Linked DNA regions of Homo sapiens: region 2 is linked to region 1. The links are contacts of gene promoters, found by promoter capture Hi-C in blood cells and fetal thymus (Javierre and others, 2016). All regions are on one chromosome and are shown on one strand. Each heading gives the region's core, a stretch centred on a gene start or on the middle of the fragment in contact. The rest is flanking DNA. Distances are from core to core; before and after follow the strand shown. Region 1 holds the start of FAM184B (family with sequence similarity 184 member B). Region 2 has its middle 26 kb from the start of LAP3.

The links. Contacts are between HindIII fragments. The CHiCAGO score rates a contact against its expected background, and 5 or more counts as called.
Region 2: a contact is called between a fragment that was not itself captured here and the fragment with the promoter of FAM184B in region 1, in 7 of 17 cell types (neutrophils, endothelial precursors, fetal thymus and 4 more). The highest score is 7.4, in neutrophils.

Annotation. Positions count from the first base shown.
Region 1 is chr4:17,778,512-17,783,764 of GRCh38, forward strand. FAM184B (family with sequence similarity 184 member B) reads right to left here and starts at 3,110. Exons shown (of 18, transcript NM_015688.2): 1 at 2,648-3,110. The coding sequence starts at 2,788. The HindIII fragment of the contact is 8,098 bases long and covers 1-4,092 here.
Region 2 is chr4:17,548,223-17,553,475 of GRCh38, forward strand. It overlaps the pseudogene NACAP5. Among named protein-coding and RNA genes, the nearest start is that of LAP3, 26 kb to the right of the region's middle. RefSeq lists an enhancer at 1,322-1,441. The HindIII fragment of the contact is 4,535 bases long and covers 497-5,031 here.

The DNA of each region.
Region 1 (5,253 bases), core at 1,860-4,359:
AAAATGTCATAAATTTAATTAACTTTTAACTATAAAAACTATTTTTAAATTTAAGAAGTAAAAACAGATTGAATGCGGTGGCACATGCCTGAGCTTTGGAAGGTTGAGGCGGGAGGATTGCTTGAAGCCAGGAGTTCGAGACCAGCTTGGGCAACATGGTGAGACTCTATTTCTACAAAAAATTTTTGAAAAAGAAAATATTAGCTGGGGGTGGTGGTGTGGACCTGTTCCTAGCTACTTGGGAGTCTGAGGTGGGAGGATTGCTTGAGGCCAGGAGCTTGAGGCTCCAGTCAGCCATGACTGTGCCACTACACTCCAGCCTGGGTAACAGAGCAAGACCCTGTCTCTTAAACAAACGAACAAAAAAGTAAAAATAAAACTCTAGGCAGCAATAAAAAGATGGGAAGGAAGGGGCTGTTAAATGAGTAAAATATACAAAGTTCTTTCATGGGAAGAAACAATTACATACTAACTTTGTTAGCAAAAAAATCAGAGTTAAGTATGTATGTTGAAAAAATAAAAGACGATTCTGAGAAGAATAGAAATAAAACCTAAAGCTCTCAAACCAGCAGTGGAATATGTATCACTTTACTAATCTGATAGAAGGCAAGAATGGAAGAAAAAGAAGCAAGGAGAAAGAATGGTAAATGAAAAACACAAGATCTGATGGAAGAAGAGCCCAAATATATTAGTAATCGCAATAAATCCCTGTGGATTAAATTCATCTGTCAGAGACACAACCAAAATAAAACTCATAGAAAGATTAAATATGAAGGACAATATTTCACATACAAATAGTAGCCAAAAGAATGGTGGCCTATTAATAACAAAAACTTCTAATTTAAGCAATTAGCATAAAAATGGTAAACAGACGCACTACATAAGGATCAATTGCGATTTCTAATGCAGAATATACTTTAAGAAACACTGCCTACTGTGTGCCAAGAATCATGTATGCCTTCTATACTGCTGTGTTTTCAGTGCTTGGCACATAATAGGTGTGCCATAAATATTAATGAGTGGAATGATTGCTATTTTATATTGAAATGATCTGTTTATGTGTTTGTCATACCACAAGGGCAAGACCATATCTTACTAATTGTTATGCCATCAACATTCAGCATAGCAGCTGGCACATAGTAGGAATTCCATAAGTCCACACTGAATTCAAGGATCATCTCTTCCATAAAATCTCCCCTCACTGTTCCTCCCATACTGATTTGTCCTTTGTTTCTACTTCTATAGCACTCGTAATTGGAAACACCCAATTTAGCACCCAAGACATAGTATAGTCTTCTAGCTTTCACTCAATATTTCAAATCTTGTTTCTTTAAAACTATTTTAGATTCTTTGAAGATAGAGAAGATGCCTTGCACTGTGCCAAGTGCCTTTTCAGGTACTTGAATAAATACATGTTTTGGTTGATGTCACTATTTACATGAATGTAGGTTAGATCAATAGTACCAGCTATACATGTCAAGAACGCTAAGGGCTATCTCCAGTCTCTTTTTTCATTCCTTGACCAAAGAGAGCCCTGTTTGGAGACAGGCTCACGTGCAAAGAATGTGAAGTTAATGAGACAGGTGGGAGAAGGCGGCTAGTGTTCAATTCCAAGCCCCTGTGCTCTATTCCTCCTGGCAAAATAGTGAGGTTGGCGGGACAGGGGGAGGGGAATGTCTGTGATCCCACAAAAAAATGTGTGGGAAGTGAGAGGGAGATGGTGAGGAAAGAGAGCATGTTCCAGACGCTACAGGACAGACCTGGACCTGACCTCTCCCTGGCGGGCATGGCACCAGGAGTTTATTATGAGACCGAAAGGAAACCCCAAGGCAAACAGCTAAATTCATCCACTTGAAACCTTGTATAGGAGACAGTGAGGGATGTTGTTTTCCATCTAGACAAGGCACAGAGGGGAGTCTGTGACAAGGAGCTTCTAATTGGGGAGCTGCAGAGGGTTAACAAAGAGCACTGGTGGCATCTTTTTGCTGGTCTTCTTGAAAAAGACATAGTCTGGGAAGGTTCAATCAGAGCCCCCTGCACGAGGTAAGGAGGTGGGCTGGCTGACTTCCCTAGGTCCTTCCTAATCCCATAGTTATTTGGTGAATCGTGCTCTTCCCCATTTATGCTCCTACACACGTCTGCACCCAGTTTGATAGTAAGTCCCCTAGGCTGCATTCCAGGTTTAGTACGGTGCCACGCAAGCTGCTGGCACTCAACAAATGACGCAAATATTTGTTGAATGAAGGAATAAATGGATCAAGTGTTTAAATAGAGCCCACATGACCTCCCCAGCTGTAAAGTATGGCAGTTGAATGAAATCACAACATTCTAGGCACTTGAGCAAAGCTGGCGGGGACACACACACACACACGATTCACATTCCCACCTTGGAAAAGCACAGACCACCTGCCCAGCCAGCAGGCTGTGGGAGTTTCCTTGGCAAGGATCCTCTTTCTCTGCTGCTTTAGGATGGTGCCTCTAGAAGGTCAAGTCACCCAGATTTAGGACCGCTTCCCTTCCCGGTTGGCCTCCGAGACAAAGTTTCTGTCTGGATTTGGCCCGGGCCTCCCGGGAGGCGCATCCGCACTGACTCCCGGCTCGGGCGCCCCGGGCGTGCAGCTCGCTGGCCCGCTGCGCCCCACCTTACCTTGGTGAGCTGGGCGATCTTCTTGCACATTTTCACGTGCATCTGGGGATCACAGTCCATTCTCCAGCCGGCGCCACCGTCGGCTTTGGAGCCCTGGCAAGTGCCGGGCGGGTTAATTTTGCTGTTGAGAGCAGAAGCCATCGCTAAAACGCGCCCAGCACTCAGACTCTCTCGTTTTCTCCCTGCCCACCGTGTGCACGTGCGTGCGCGCGCGGGCGTGCGAGCGTGTGGGTTTCTCGGGAGAGGTGGCACTGCAGTCCCGTCGCCTGCACCGCCGCGTGGCCCCAGCTTCCCGAAGGTCTCCGCCTCCCGGGCCCACCCGCGCGCCCACCCTTTTTCCTCTCCTGCTGGTTCTCTGGCTGGCTGGCTCCGCGGGCACCCGCACCCTGCGGCGAGGCGTCGGCGCCCCGCACGTGCCGCTGGCGATCAGTCTGCAGTTCCCCAGCCAGTGCAGGTTTCGTGTGCAAGGGGAGAGCTTCCGCGGCTAGGAGCTGCCGGCCTTGGGGGGTTTGCGGTGGGCGGGCACTGCGCTCTTGGACACGTGGGTGGCGCGCGGCCCTGGACTTGGTGGCGACGGACCCTGCCCGAGGTGGGGATCCCAGGCTAAAGAGGAAGAAGAGCCTCCGGAGAGGGACAGGGCACAGTGACTGGCGGCCTCCGGAGAGGGACAGGGCACAGTGACTGGCGGCTCCCGAGTCTCCGAGCTGATAGCGGAGATGGCGGTGGGGGACGAGATGCTAAGAGAGGGGCGGGTAGGTGAGGGCGAGCCATCGGGACTCAAGGAGGTGTGGGATCCGGGGCGCACGGTGTGGGCCAGCGCCTGAGTTGCGCGAGTGCACAGCGGGGCTGGGGATGGTAGCCTTCCTTTTTGGATCTTGGAGAGGAGCCAGGACATTGCGGGAGGAATACCGGAGATGCCCAAAGAGGAGAAGCCAAGGGGATGGCAGGGTGCGGGTGACCGAAATCTGAGATGAGAAAGTGCGAAACGGGTAATGCGGGAAGCGGTAGGAACGCAAAGACAAAGTCGTTAGGGAGGTAGAAAGGATGGTGGCAGGTGCGGGAAAGGAAGAAGCAAAGAGGAATGGAGCAGTTAGATGAGTAAAAGATGGAACTGAAAATCTTAGCAAACCGAGCCCATTGAAAGTAAAGTGAGTCGTCCAAATCCACACTACTGGCCTTGGGCAGACTGGAGCCAGACTGTCAAGTTTTCGGATTCTGAGCTGGTGTCTGTTTAGTGTTTGGTGAGGGGAGAGGTTAGCGGGCCAAATTTCTTTCTGGCGTGTTCTCTGGTTTCAGACAGTGGACTTTAAGGGAAAGTGACAGCACCGTGATCAGCTTTTCCTAAAGCTCGAATAATAGGTCTTCATGATAGTTTGCATAGTGAATGTATATCATTTATACATTGCCTTTTATCAGAAATTTTAATAATCTTCATAAACCAAGCAAGCTTCAAAGGGTCTCAGAAACCACAGTTCCACCCATCCATACTGAAGGTAACAAAACCCATTTTTGTCGATGAGGAAAATTGACCCAGAAAATTTGTACCAAGTCAGGCAATTACAAGTAGAACTGTTTCTGAAATAGACATTCCTATTCTAGATTCTGTATCAAATGACCGGCCTCGGTTTTTGATTTCTAATTTACCATCTTAAGTTCTCTTTTTAGCACAACCCCTCCCTCCCCCAGTTCCTTTAGAAAACAGAGACAAAGCCTCTGAGGATGGGGGTCAGGGGGTCAGGAATCCACATTAAACAGCTCTCTGCTTAATTCCAAATTGTGTATTTAGAATATTTTCTGCAGGATCTTAATATATACTAAATTTTACAGGAATTCAACCACTGTGTAAACTAGAGGAAAATTAGCCTTTTTGGTCAAGAACTTTACTAAAAGTTGTTGACCATTTTGGAAAATCACATCAAGGGCCAGGTGGCTCATGATATTTGGTTGCCAATACAACACACTTATTTATTTATTTTTTTTATTTTTTTGAGACAGAGTTTTGCTCTGTCACCCAGGCTGGAGTGCAGTGGCATGATCTCGGCTTACTGCAACTTCTACTTCCTGAGTTTAAGCCATTCTTGTGCCTCAGCCTCCAGAGTAGCTGGGATAACAGGCATGCACCACCACGCCCGACTAATTTTTGCATTTTTAGTAGAGATGGGGTTTCTCCATGTTGGCCAAGTTGGTCTCAAATTCCTGGCCTTGAGTGATCCTCCCACCTAGGCCTCCCAAAGTACTGGAATTACAGGTGTGAGCCACCGTGCCTGGCCACAACACACTTCTAACTGCCATATTGATGGTGAGTCTACCTATGCAAGCATCTGATTACTACACTGTGTCCCTCAGTATCAACAGGGGATTGGTTCCAGTACCCCTTCAGATACCAAAATCCATGGATGTTCAAGTCACTTACATAAAATGGTGTAACGTTTGCATATAACCTACTCACATCCTCTCGTATGCATTAAATCATCTCTATATTACTTGTAATACCTAATACAACGTAAATGTTATGTAATTAGTTGTTACACTGTATTGTTTAGGGAATAAAAAAATAGGCTGTATATGTATACAGTACAGATGCAACCATCAATTTTTTTTCCTCA
Region 2 (5,253 bases), core at 1,514-4,013, 230 kb before region 1:
CTCTGAGCCTCAGTTTCTTCAACTGTAAAAAAGGTATATTGGCGGGGCGTGGTGGCTCACGCTTGTAATACCAACACTTTGGGAGGCCGAGATGGGTGGATCACTTGAGGGCAGGAGTTTGAGGCCAGCCTGGTCAACATGGGGAAACCCCATCTCCAGTAAAAATATAAAAACTAGCCAGGGGTGGTGGTGCATGCCTATAATCCCAGCTAGTGGGGAAGCTGAGGCAGGAGAGTCATGTGAACCCAGGAGGCGGAGGTTGCAGTGAGCCGAGATTGTGTGACTGCACTCCATCTCAAAAAAAAAAAGGTATACTAATACCTTTCCTGTCTACCAAGGAGAGTAGTTGAAGGGGCAAATGATAATAATACCATACATGTAAAAATTTCCTGAAAACTGAATAAGGCAGCATTAAAAAAAAAAAAATATATATATATATATAATTATATATAAGCTTTTCTGGGACGCCACTTTTAAAATCAAAAGATGATTTTAAAGCTTTGTTGAGTTCAGTTGAGGCTTTAAGAACAATTTGCCACAAAATGACAAAGCTCGTTCTGGGCATGATCATTTTATCAAATCCTGGATCTGGTAGTTAAAAGTGTCATTGTTTTCTTTTTTGTTTTGTTCTGTTTGTTACCAAAGGCTATAATTATTTGGTGGCAATTTGCCATTTCTGGAATCTTAATCATACTGGCTTATAATGTGGTCTGCTCTGAACAGAGCTTATTTATAACTACACAACTATGTGCATTTTCTTTAAGACTTAGGAGGAATATTATAAATCAGGGATAAATTGTTTCATAAGTGAATCAGAAAGAAACTAGAGAAGTAATGAGCTTTGACTGCCTTAGGTATTGTTGCTGTGATTGTTAAATGCATTAGCTAATAGTTTTACCATGGATACTATATAATACTATCACACCGTATATGTTTTAATAATCATATCAAAGCAATCCATGGTGCAAAATAATTTCTAAACTATGATTCTAAGGTTAAACATGTCTAAAAATGAAAGTGGTATGACCACCGTTTGCCACTAGGGGGAAGCAATCGATTGACCATAAACTCATCATGTCTCAGCGGGCGTGGGGCTGCCGGTTGGATCAAGGAATCTTGAATGATTCTTTCAGCTCAGAGTCACTCTGTGATTCCACTATGCTTCCAGTTTCAAGTTCCAATTGAGTAAGGAAATACCTTTTAATATTTTAGATAACGTTGCTAAGTATAACGAGGGTTATTTCTCAGCGGGGTGTTGCAGGACCCTAGGAAACAAAAACTGTTAGAACTTTAGAGGTCTTGACTGGGCGCAGTGGCTCACGCCTGTAATCCCAGCACTTTGGGAGGCCGAGGCGGGCGGATCACGAGGTCAGGAGATCGAGACCATCCTGGCTAACACGGTGAAACCCCGTCTGTATCAAAAATACAAAAAATTAGCCGGGCGTGATGGCGGGCGCCTGTAGTCCCAGCTACTCGGGAGGCTGAGGCAGGAGAATGGCGTGAACCCGGGAGGCGGAGCTTGCAGTGCGCCGAGATCTCGCCACTACACTCCAGCCTGGGCGACAGAGCGAGACTCTGTCAAAAAAAAAAGAATTTTAGAGGTCTTACATCCTACCAGTAACCTGTAACGTCACAGCCATAAAGGTTTTCTCTCTGGTCCTCTGTGTCAGCGCAGGGTTGTAAAAATCAAATTACTATACTTGATTAATAACTCATCAAGGATAAAATAGTATAATACATAGGCCCAGCAACTCTAACAAGTGACTGGCCTTTTTTTTTTTTTTTTTTTTTTTTTTTTTTTGTGAGACAGGGTCTCACTTCTCACCCAGGGTGGAATGCAGTGGTGCGATCTCAGTTCACTGCAACCTCCACTTCCCGGGCTCAAGCAATCCTCCCACCTTAGCCTCTCGAGTCTCTGGGACTGCAGGCGTGCGCCACCACACCTGACTAATTTTTGTATTTTTTGTAGAGATGGGGTTTTGCCATGTTGTACAGGCTGGTCTTGAGCTCCTGAGCTAAAGTGATCCGCCTTCTTTGGCCTCTCAAAATGCTGGGATTAGAAGCGGGAGCCACCACACCCTGCCCAAACTCAATTTTATATCTATAAAGTTTCATTCTTTTTAAAGATTATCACTGTAATAATATATATCAGAAAACTTAAAAAAATACAAAATTATGAGAAAGAAGATAAAGATGAAACCACTGTTTATATTTTATTTTCTTAAATGGTTTCCCAAATTACTGTATTTAATTAAGTCAACACCTTAAATCTCTTCTGGAATAAGGAAAGCAGGATGGGTAGATAGACCGACACAGATGTGAGGAATTATCTCAATAGTTTCCAAACCTGGCTGATGGTCAGAATTACCTGGTGAGCGTTTTAAAACTAAATCAGAATCTCTTTGGAGAGGGAGGAGAGGAAAGAAGGAAGCTAGACTCCAGAAAGAGAGAGAGAGCGAGCGAGAGAGGAGTGTGTGTGTGGTGTGTGTGTTTGGAGTTACCCAGTTGATGGTTTAGAGTTGGCATTTGCAAACTGCTGAGGTAAACAAGTTTGCAGGTGTTGCCACAGAAAATATACAGAGCTTCCTTGGTGTTCATGGGGATGTAAAAACAAAAAAAAAGAAAATATAAGGACCAGAATGGTTAAGAACTTAAATTCAACCCCAATAGTGAAGACCAAATTAGAATTAAATTATTTTACCAAAAAAGAAAAATTACTTTGTCATATGAAAAATCGTGGCAAGCATACATTTGACGTATTGATAACTGTAATGATACGTTTGGGTTTTTTTTCAGTCAGTGTTCTTTTATTAGAGAAAGGAGTTTATTGTAATCCTCAATACTGAGAACAGTTTGTCTCTGAAAGTATATGTAGATGAGCAAACTGCTAAACAAGAAAACAGTCCAGGCGCAGTGGCTCACACCTATAATCCCAGCACTTTGGGAGGCCAAGGTGGGCAGATCACGAGGTCAGGAGATGGAAACTATCCTGGCCAACATAGTGAAACCCCGTCTCTACTAAAAACACAAAAATTAGCCGGGCGTGGTGGCACATGCCTGTAATCACAGCTACTCGGGAGGCTGAGGCAGGAGAATTGCTTGAACCAGAGAGTTGGAGGTTGCAGTGAGCCAAGATCACACCACTGCACTCCACCATGGTGACAGGGCAAGACTCCATCTCAAAAAAAAAAAAAAAAAAAAAAAAAAGAGAGAAAGAAAGAAAAGAAAAGAAAACAAGAGTTCTCATTCACAAAGGACCTCTGCAGTTTAAAAATAAAAAAAGGCATCAGGATTTCTCAGGACAGTCACTTACATTTCAGGGACACCAGATTATTCTCTTTTTAATTTTGAGACAGAATCTCACTCTGTCACCCAGGCTGGAGTACAGTGGTGCCACCGCCGCTCACTGCAGCCTCAACTATGGGCTTGTGCCACCACACTCGGCTAATTTTTGTAGTTTTTGTAGAGACAGGAGTCTCACTATGTTATCCAGGCTGGTCTCCAAGTCCTGGGCTCAAGTGATACTACTGCCTCTATTTCCCAAAATGCTGGGATTACAGGTGTGAGCCACTGCTCTTGGCCCAGGGTAGTATTAAAGGAAGATCCCAGACCTGACAGAGGTGAAAATAAGAGAAAAGATGATTAGTCTCCTTTATTGTGGAAGCAGAAGAATGCCAAGAAATTCTTTAAAAGGCAAGTGGTTGGCCATTAATAATCGCCTGGGCTGGGAGTGCAGTGACTGTGGGACTTTGCATAATTTGAATGTTTATTTTATTCTAATATTTTTCCAAGAAGAAGCCATAATTTTATTTATGATAGAAACAGGTACAAATTTCAAACCAAGTTGCAGTTATTCTTTTGAAACACACAAAAACAGTCATTTTCAGGTGGTCACATTGTTAATTCTGTAATAGCAGTTACAATATGATTACTCTTGTTCTTCAAGGCTCGGACTTCCTTTGCTCTCAATACATTTGCTTGTGACATGACCAATTCTACGTCCTTAACTTCCACACCTGTATCATCAACCTTTTCCTCTCCAGTCTCGTCTTGTATAGTTGGAGTCTGTGTGTTTTCTTGAATGTTTGAGACAGCTCACTCTGTGTCTTAGCAGGTGCTACCCATGCTTGTTAAGATAAATCCTTGATCTTGGCTTCCCCAAAAACACACACATAGGTATCCGAAGCAGGATTCTTGTAGACATCTGGTTTTGTGATGACAAAGAAGATATTCTTAGATTTCCAGTAGTGACTGTAGTAACCCCTGTTATCTACGGAAGACCGAGTTTGGACATAGCCTTACGTGCCTTCTTTTCACTCTAACTCTGTTTTGCTTTACTGATTGACACTCATTGATTTCAGCTGCTGCTGCCAGCTGGGCTGCTTGTGTGGTATCTCTGTGGAATCCTGTTCCTCGAGCTCTGGTACTGATTTATCACTGTCAGCTTCTGTTCCAGACCCGGTCTCCACCTGGGGCTGTGGCAACTCCTGCTCTGTAGCAAGAATGGTTTCTGTGGCTTCACCAGGCATTTAGTGCAGGGAACTTGAGACCAGGATGGTGGCAGAAAGACAGCCAGCAAGAAGGCAACAGTTTGTTTTTTAAAAACTAAATGGGGCTGGGCGCGATGGCTCACACCTGTAATCTCAGCACTTTGGGAGGCCCAGGCAGGCAGATCACTTCAGGTCAGGAGTTCAAGACCAGCCTGGCCAACATGGTGAAATCTCATCTCTCCTAAAAATACAAAAATTAGCCAGGTGTGGTGGTGTGCACCTGTAATCCCAGTTACTTAGGGGGCTGAGGCAGGAGAATTGCTTGAGGCCAGGAGGCGGATGTTGCAGTGAGCCGAGATTGAGCCACTGCACTCTAGCCCGGGTGACAGAGCAAGACTCCCTCTCAAAAAAATAAAAATAAAAAATAAAAGAAAAAAGAAAAGAAAAAAAAAACAAAAAAAACTAAATGTACATCATATGACCCAGCATTTATGCTCCTGGGCATTTATCCCAGAAAAATGAAAACTTATTTCCAGATGAAAGCTTGTACACAAATGTTCATAGCAGCTTCATTGGGAATTACCAAAAACTGGAAGCAACCAAAATGTCCTTCAATAGGTGAATGACAGAAAAATAAAACAAAACAAAACTGTGATACATCCATTCCGTGGAATAATACTCTGCAACAAAAAGGAGTGAATTACTGGTATACATGAGAGCTTGAATGGATCTCAAGAGCAAATACTGGGTGAAAAAGTCAATC